Regions from separate parts of the Homo sapiens genome. Here all the other regions are linked to region 2. The links are contacts of gene promoters, found by promoter capture Hi-C in blood cells and fetal thymus (Javierre and others, 2016). All regions are on one chromosome and are shown on one strand. The core of a region is centred on a gene start or on the middle of the fragment in contact, and the rest is flanking DNA. Distances in the headings are between cores, read along the strand shown.

What was found. Contacts are between HindIII fragments. The CHiCAGO score rates a contact against its expected background, and 5 or more counts as called.
Region 1: the fragment with the promoter of PARD6B here is called in contact with the fragment with the promoter of STAU1 in region 2 in 3 of 17 cell types (neutrophils, naive CD8 T cells and non-activated CD4 T cells); the score reaches 7.4 in neutrophils.
Region 3: a fragment that was not itself captured here is called in contact with the fragment with the promoter of STAU1 in region 2 in 1 of 17 cell types (fetal thymus); the score reaches 5.8 in fetal thymus.

What each region holds. Positions count from the first base shown.
Region 1 is chr20:50,730,166-50,732,865 of GRCh38, reverse strand. PARD6B (par-6 family cell polarity regulator beta) reads right to left here and starts at 1,286. Exons shown (of 3, transcript NM_032521.3): 1 at 1,014-1,286. The coding sequence starts at 1,079. RefSeq lists silencers at 844-1,633, 1,734-1,943 and an enhancer at 2,134-2,183. The HindIII fragment of the contact is 2,238 bases long and covers 1-2,101 here.
Region 2 is chr20:49,187,066-49,189,765 of GRCh38, reverse strand. It overlaps STAU1 (staufen double-stranded RNA binding protein 1), which reads left to right and starts at 1,432. Exons shown (of 14, transcript NM_017453.4): 1 at 1,432-1,650. RefSeq lists silencers at 1,159-1,828, 2,059-2,218 and an enhancer at 2,619-2,688. The HindIII fragment of the contact is 4,529 bases long and covers 1-2,606 here.
Region 3 is chr20:50,510,916-50,513,615 of GRCh38, reverse strand. The region is part of intron 1 of PTPN1 (protein tyrosine phosphatase non-receptor type 1); the gene reads right to left. Among named protein-coding and RNA genes, the nearest start is that of PTPN1, 1.9 kb to the right of the region's middle. The HindIII fragment of the contact is 681 bases long and covers 923-1,603 here.

The sequences.
Region 1 (2,700 bases), core at 37-2,536, 1.5 Mb before region 2:
GCCTTCTCAATTCTATTTTAAATGTTCTCAGGGCCCAGCCAGTGTCCTGTTTTGTATTCTGCAATGTCTAGAAGTTATTAAAAAGGCATGAAGGCTTTGCAAAAAAACAGCTTGAGGAAGTCATAACCTTTCTAAGCCTCAGTCTTCTCAGAGAATTGGGCTAGATTATCTAAGCTCCTTTTAACTCTTCAACTCAAGAAACGCTTGCTGAAAGTGTTCCCTTGGCTGCCGATCACCTTCAAATTCCAGCTCAAAACCCCCTTTGGAAGGCATTCCCTAACTAATCCCTCCCTACAGACTACCCTGCTCACTGAGCCTTGAGATTTAGAAATTCAGTGAATACCGAAGTAATTATCAGCAGATTGGCATACCGTTGGTCAAGGGGAAAAGCACTTGATGTGAGTAGGTAGCAGGATGGAATGAAAAGAGCATCTAGAGTCAAACTGTAAAGTGCTACTCCAACGTAAGGTGATAGTACTAATTTTACAGATTAAATGCATACCAAAGTTAGTGCTAGAAAGAGCGCCAGCAGGAAGCAAAGCGAACTTTTAAAGGGCTGTTTAGTTCACTGGGCTCTCTCCTTCGCCACTCGATGCGCCCCTTAACCACAGAAAGTGGGAACAACGGGGTGGTCCAGGGCCCTTTACTCACAGCCCAGCAGGCAGGATTCTCCTACACCTTTTGAGCAGCCTCGCATTTCACTCAGTGTGCGCCATCCTTGGATATACCTTGGCCCCTACTCCCGTCCGTGAACACGGGAATGAGATTTACGGAATGAGATTAAATGCTGGACTAGGTCTTCTTCCTGCCCGGGCCAGGGGCGGACACTAGCGCCCCCTGACCCCCGCCACCCCCTCCTCGGCAAGTTTATTACCCACAGTCTCCCGACCGCACCGTCCAGACCCCGGGGCAGCTCAGCCCGTCGCCTCCCCCGGCGCTCCGAGCCTGGCCCGGCCTCTCCCAGGCCCCGGCCCCCCAGGCCCGCCGCTCCGCCCAGCCCGGGCCCCGCGCACCTTGCTCTTCACCTCCATAGTGCCCAGGCAGCCGCTGCCCGCCCCGTGCCGGTGGCTGCGGTTCATGCTGAACGCCGAGCCCCGCGACGGCCTCCTCCGGCCGGGCGGCCCCTCAGGAGCGCGGGGAGCGAGTGCGCGACTGGGGATCTCGGAAAGCGGTTGCGGCCCGGGCGCCTCCTCACAGGCACCTGCAGAGGGGGCGGCCGCAGCTCCGGCGTCCGCGCTGAGCTCCACTCCACCAGCTGCTCACACGGCGGGACCGAGGGTCGGACTGGTGGCGCGGCAGGCGGGGAAGCAGCTCCCTCCCTCCGGGCCCCGGCGGCGACGGCGACAGCGCTGGAGGAGAGGAGGGGGCGGAGCGGAGGCCACAAGCGCCGCAACCTCTCCCTCTGCCGCCTCCCCCGCGAGCCCGCGCGCGCGCACCCGAGCGGACCACAGCCGCGGCGCGTGCGCGCGCTCACCTGCAGCCCCCGAAGATGCCGCAATCCCTCGCGTTCCGCCCACACCCAATAGAAAGCGCGCACCTGCGCCCGCGGCGCCAACCAATCGATACACGCCTCGCGCGGTGCGTGGGCGGGCTGCCTCCTCAAAACCCCGCCTACCACCGCACGATTGGTCCTGCGCTACGAGGGAGGGGCGGGATCACCTGAAGCCATGGCCCTCCGCCCCGCTTCAGGCCGGAGAGCCAGAAGGCGCATGCGCGGGTGCTGGAGTTTCCGCCCCGGGAAGGCACGCGGGGAGGCCGGCCGGAAGCGCGAGCGCACCTGAAGAAGGGCTCGGCTGGGTGGGCCTTTTGCGCACGCGCGAGCGCGCGCCTGGTTGCCCGGCTCCGCCGGGGCTCGCGCCGCTTAGCGCGCGCCAGTCACACGCACGGTCCAGGGGATTGGATGCGCCGCCCGTCCGGTTGCCGAGGCGCTGCGGGGCTATTCGGTTCCAGCCGGGCCCCCTTCCCGCTTCCACTTTGGGATGCTGCAGCCCCCAACGACGCCCCTCCACCGCCCCTTATCGTTGCTTAGGCGTCCCGCTGCAACTCTTGGTTGCAAAATTCAAGTTTTCCCGCCTCTGCAGCGGTTGCTGGGGGAGAAGCTTAGGGCTCTCTTGGCTTCATTTTGTCCGAAGAGACTCTGCACGCCTTAAGTCCGTCAGGTCGAGAGGGAAGGAAAGTGGGCTGAGGCGCGGGAAGGCTCCTTGCAGGCCCAGCCTCCCTGAGGATTTCTAGTCCAGTCTTTCAGGGCTTTTTTTTTTTTTCTTTAAAAGTCTTCCTTTTCCCTCCTCCCGCCATTCCTTGGCCATTCGCTGTTTCTACAAATGACAGCCTCTAGGTTGTGTTCGTTTCCCGGAGTGACCAAGCTGTGTCCCAGAGCAACAAAACGCTGAATCCTCCTCTCTGAACGTCCCAGAGCCCGGCCTCTCTTCACACAGACCCTGTGGGTCATGGGGAGGAGAGGAGAAGACTGAAGCTTTTGGCTGGAGGAGATTCCCAGGTCCCAAGGTCTCCCTGTGGGACCCGGGAATCCAAGAGCTGTTGAAACCTGCAAGCCAGGAAGGGGGCAGGGGAATGGAGGTGGAGGGGAAGGTCCAACCTGAGATTTGGCAAGAAGAGTGGTTAGGGTACCTTCCTCCCCTCATCTCCCTGCCCACCTCGGAGGCCTCCTAACACTTGTACCCCTGTTGCCCAGCACTTGTT
Region 2 (2,700 bases), core at 183-2,682:
AGTCCCAGAGTGAGCGGGAGAGAGAAGCTCTGTGCACCTGCAGTTCCTTCATTCATTCTCAGTTTCTTGGACCTCTCACAACGCGAGCATAATTTTCGCTGAGTGTGCAGAAGTTCAAGATTCTTTTTTTTTTTTTTTTTTTTTTTGAGACAGAGTCTCACTCTGTTGCCCAGGTTGGAGTGCAATGGCGTGATCTCGGCTCACTGCAACCTCCGTCTCCCGGGTTCAAGAGATTCTCCTGCCTCAGCCTCCCAAGTAGCTGTGATTACAGGCGCCCACCACTGCATCCGGCTAGTAGAGACGGGGTTTCACCATGTTAGTCAGGCTGGTCTCGAACTCCTGACCTCAGGTGATCCGCCCACCTCGGCCTCCCAAAGTGCCGGGATTACAGGCGTGAGCCACTGCGCCTGGCCAAGATTCTTTACTGGCCACCCTCTCTCCAACCTCCCATACAATACAGCTGCTAAAAACCACTTAGTTTATCTAGGTCTGGGTGAAATAAATAGTAATCTGGCACTTCTCGTCTTTTTTTTTTTTTTTTTTTTTTTTTTTTTTTTTTTTTTTGAGACCAGTGTCTCTTTGTCGCCAAGGCTGGAGTGCAGCGGCGCGATCTCAGCTCACTGCAATCTCCGCCTCCCGGGTTCAAGCGATTCTCCTGCCTCAGCCTCCCGAGTAGCTGTTTACCTACAGGCGCCCGCCACCACGCCCGGCTAATTTTTTGTATTTTCAGTAGAGACGGGGGTTTCACCGTGGTAGCCAGGATGGTCTCGATCTCTTGACCTAGTGATCCGCCCGCCTCGGCCTCCCAAAGTGCCGGGATTAGAGGCCTGAGCCAACGCGCCCGGGCCATTGTCTTTTATCTCACTACACATTTTTCAATTTTATTTATTGTGTATTTTACTTACACAAGAATGTAAGCTCCACGAGGGCAGGGATTTTTGTCAGTTCACCACTACATTCTTAGCTCTTGGAGCAATGCCTTGCATATGGCAAGCATTTAATGAACATTTACAGATGGAGGAAGAAACAACTGCAGGAAGGAGAGAAAGGAAGGCCAGAGGCAGGACAAGAGGAAGAAGCGACAGCAAGGAAGGAAAAAGGAAGTGGAGGAGGAAAGAAGGTAGGCTGGGTTCTCCCAGACCCGCTTCGAGTCCAGCAGGCAGCGCGAAACTCCCACCAGAACTACAACTCCCGGCAGGCCCCGGGACTCAGGACGGGCCGCTGCGGTCCAGGCGGGACAGGGCGCTCCTCCCGCTGGGCCCCCGGCGTGCCTTGCGAGCGCAGGCTCCGCCGCAGTGCCAGCCGGAACTTGTGGTTCGGACCGTGGGTGGGGGTGGGGCCGGGGCCGGGCCTGGAGGCGGGCGGGGGCCGGGGGCGGGCGCCTGCCCCTCCCCCGTCACTTCCTGCCGGGCTGCGGGCGCCTGAGCGGCTCTTCAGCGTTTGCGCCGGCGGCTGCCGCGTCTCTCTCGGCTCCCGCTTCCTTTGACCGCCTCCCCCCCCCGGCCCGGCGGCGCCCGCCTCCTCCACGGCCACTCCGCCTCTTCCCTCCCTTCGTCCCTTCTTCCTCTCCCTTTTTTCCTTCTTCCTTCCCCTCCTCGCCGCCACCGCCCAGGACCGCCGGCCGGGGGACGAGCTCGGAGCAGCAGCCAGGTGAGGCGGCCGGGCCGGGCCGGGCCTGGTGGGGCCCTCGCGGGCGCCGCCGCGGTGGGGAGGTGGGCGGCGGGTGGGGCCTAGGCCTCGGCGGGCCCGCGCACCCCTCCGCCTTCTCCCGGGCCTCTCTCTAGCCCGCGGGGCCTTCCCGGAGGAGGCGGGTCCTCTTGCGTTCCCTCGCCTCGGGGCGCCCTGAGGCCTGGCCCCGGGCGCCCCCATCCCCTCCAGCCCTCACCGGTGCCACAAACAGGTGCTGCGGCCGCCTTTCCTCGTCCCGCATGGCGCGCGCGGGGATGCCGAAGTTATTCCCGGGGCTGGGGCGCAGGCGGGGGGGGGGGGGGGTCCCTGCTTCAGGTCCCCGAGGGCTGGAGCCTCTCAGTGTCGCCGGCCCAGGTCTGTAGCTTAGTGGTTAAGAGCACGGCCCAGGTGTCCAAAACGGGTGCCGAACCCGGCTCTGCCCCGTTAGGCAAGACACTTAAAAAGTCTTTGTGTCTTGGTTGGAAAAGGGGCTGCTAATACCGTCCCTGCCTCTTAAGGTTCAGTGAAATGGGGCGTGTAAAGCGCTTATCAGAGTGCCAGACCCACAGCGTGTCCCAGTAAACCGTCTGCATAATTTATTAGCGTGATATGAAGGTATAATTTAATGGGCAGAGTGGATAGAAGTTGACCTACCTATCCGTTTGGGTTTCTTAGAGGCTGCAGTGTTCCGCGTGCCCATGTCCAGAGCCAGGGCATTGTTTTCAGTTGTTAACATCTGAAAGGGGCGTACGCTTAATTGGGACACTGTAGTTGACAGTCTGTAAACGATGGATGCTGTTTCTTTCCATCTCCGCTTAGGCAACTGCAGGATATTCACCATCTCCCGCAGGATGAGCAACCTGTCCATTTCTCCCCGCCCCGCCATCATCCAGCTTCTTCTTGTCATTCCATTTCTGGGAAAGTTGCTGGCAGAAGCTTCCCTTGAGTTGAGCAAACCTATCTAGAGCACTTGCTGTGTGTTGGGCTCTGAAGGGGGGTGTACGGAGATGGAAAAATTTGTCTGTCTTGTCT
Region 3 (2,700 bases), core at 14-2,513, 1.3 Mb before region 2:
TAACATGAATAAATCTTGCCTTCATGTCACAAGGTATTATTGCAGTCCCCTTTATCTGAAACAATCAAATCATTCACAATGAAATATAGTGAGTGGTGTCAGAGAATCAAAGAATTTACAGACGAGAAAACAAGCAAAACACCGGACCCAACCCCTCTTAAACTACAGATGGAGGGGAGCACATGAGCTATTCTTTTCATTCACTCAACCCTCTCTCCTCTCATTCTAGCTCAGTAAAATCAATCTCTTTTCCTCATCTGGGCTCATTCTCTCCTCTTAGACAGCTAGGCCCAATCAAGCAACCGGATGATTTGAAAGTGTTTAAATGCTAGAAAACAATGTTTAAAGCCATCTATATACACTATCAAAGCTGACTTTTTATAGACCTAGATGCTTATTAGCATCTATGCTATTCATTAGCATTAAAGATTAAAAATACGGTTATGCTCACTTTATCAAACTGACCTAGCAAAGAATCTCTGCCTAAAAAGTTTGTTTTCCAAGCTGCCACATTCCTCAGCACTCAAAAGTCCTCTTCACTCTTTGTTCTTTTCCCAATAGTTTTCAAGTTTTTACATCTTTTTGTTCTAATCAGAAAATAAGTTAGAATAACTGACCTGCTTACCAAGTTGTAAGCAAAAATTACATTATTCTCTGATCACAATAGGCTAGGCAAGCTCAAAGTATGACTTTGTATAAGGCTGCCCTCATTTCAACATGCTATAAAGTATTAATTTTTTTAAACTTCCATTTTCTATCAATTGTAAACACATTCTTTGAATCCTTGAAAAATAATGGTTTTGGTAAAGCGATACACACCTTGGAAAGTTAGCCACTTTAGACTCAAGGTCATCTGAACTCTGTTTCAGAAAACGCTACAGTTGTATGACAAAGAGCTACTTTTACACTTAGGAGAAAAGCTTCTGATTTCAAGATCTTAGAAAAGAAAAATATCCATACAGTGGAGGTGAGAAAAGCTGGCCCTGACAATTCTCTAAGACCAAAAGAAACTACCTCAGGGAATGTGGCAATCCATTAAGAAGCAGTGAAAATCTCAACACCTTGACTAACTTGTGGGGTTTAATTGTGGCAGAAAAACTTAAGAACAATGAAGGAAATGAATTGAAGACTGACACACTCCATGCTAGTTGCATGCTGAATACAATTTTAACCATGCTTGGGTGACAGGTCAACCCACTCTGGCTTAAAATTGTAAGAAATAAAATTCAACTAAGAACTAAGTTACAATACGTATTTCTTGTTGTCAACTCAGTCAATTTCAGTGGAAAAGACTTCTCTCCACAATGCTTCCACTGTGATGGGGTGTATCATAATCAACTCCAACACTTCAGACCAACAATTTTCATTTAAAGACATTTTAGACTCTACTGCATTAAACTGATGCAGAAAATTTGTCTACACAGTCTCAAAGTCCCTTATGGAATTCATTCAGCTAATTCAGAGACCAGATATGGCATACAAATTTTATATACTGATCAATCATACTTATTAGTATATAGATTACAGTGGTTAGAAATATTAGTCTAGCAGAAACTAATATACACACTACAGTCCAAATAAAAAGAATCCTGTCAAATAAGCTTGATGTAAATCCACATGAAAATCAAGGCTGCCAAAAAAAAAGGCTTTTGTTAGTCAAGCATACCAAAGAACTGCTTAAACCTTTTTTCCTTTCTAAGCGGAGCTCAAAATAGATTTTAATACTACAGCTGATGGATCTCACAATTTGCCTTTTGAGCCTATAAGCTGAAAACAGAATCATCTGCTGTCTCCCTTTACACAAGTAACAAAATCTCTCTATTCTGTATATCGCTTATTTAAGATACTGTGCAAGTGTGGTTTTAGTTAATCTTAACAACCCCCGCAATGACATTTAATTGGGAGTATGTATCTTATTCAGCTGCTTGTGAAAGGAAGAGCTCTTTGTGTTTTTAACTACTTGTTTTATAGATATATGAGAAACCCTCCTTTCCTAACTTTTTAACACACAAGGAGATGACTCCTAAGACAAGGTCATCTCTGCCACGACCAAAGACTAAGCTGCTCATTGAGGAAAGATGCTATTTTAGAGAGGGTTAAAACGTTAACCTTCCTGAGTCCCTGCCTGAAAGAATAATATCATGGCCCCAATGGAGTGGGTACCGCAGGCCTCCTGGCTAGAAGGTTCTTTAGCCCCATATTCTCACGGCTTTCTGCTCCTCTTGGTTCAGCTCACAAAGCAAATGTCTCCTCCTTTGACAGGCCTTCCCTGATCCCCTTCTCTAAGACAGCCGGCCTTCTATGCAGTCACCCTGTACCCCGTTAGGAAGTCGTTCTCTTCACAGCACCTGTCACTATCTGAAATTATTTGCTTTTGTGTTTGATTGCCCTATTCGACTCTAGGCCCCACTAAGGCTAGGATCTTGCCTGTCCTGATTAGCAAACACCACCTCCAATGCCTAAGCGGTGCCTAGCACAGAATAAGCTTGCCAACTCCTATCCAATAAATGAATGAACAGAAAGGGGAAAGGGGACTGTCATCTCTGGGACTCGACGCACACTGAGACTAGGGGAAAGGAAATGTGAAGGAGGGACGGGGGGAGTAACCTTTTCCCCCAGGGAGACAAAGGAAGAGAGTCTGAGGTGGTCCACTCCAGAAAAGGAAATAGTGGGGGTGCTAAATCACCCCAGGGGACAAAG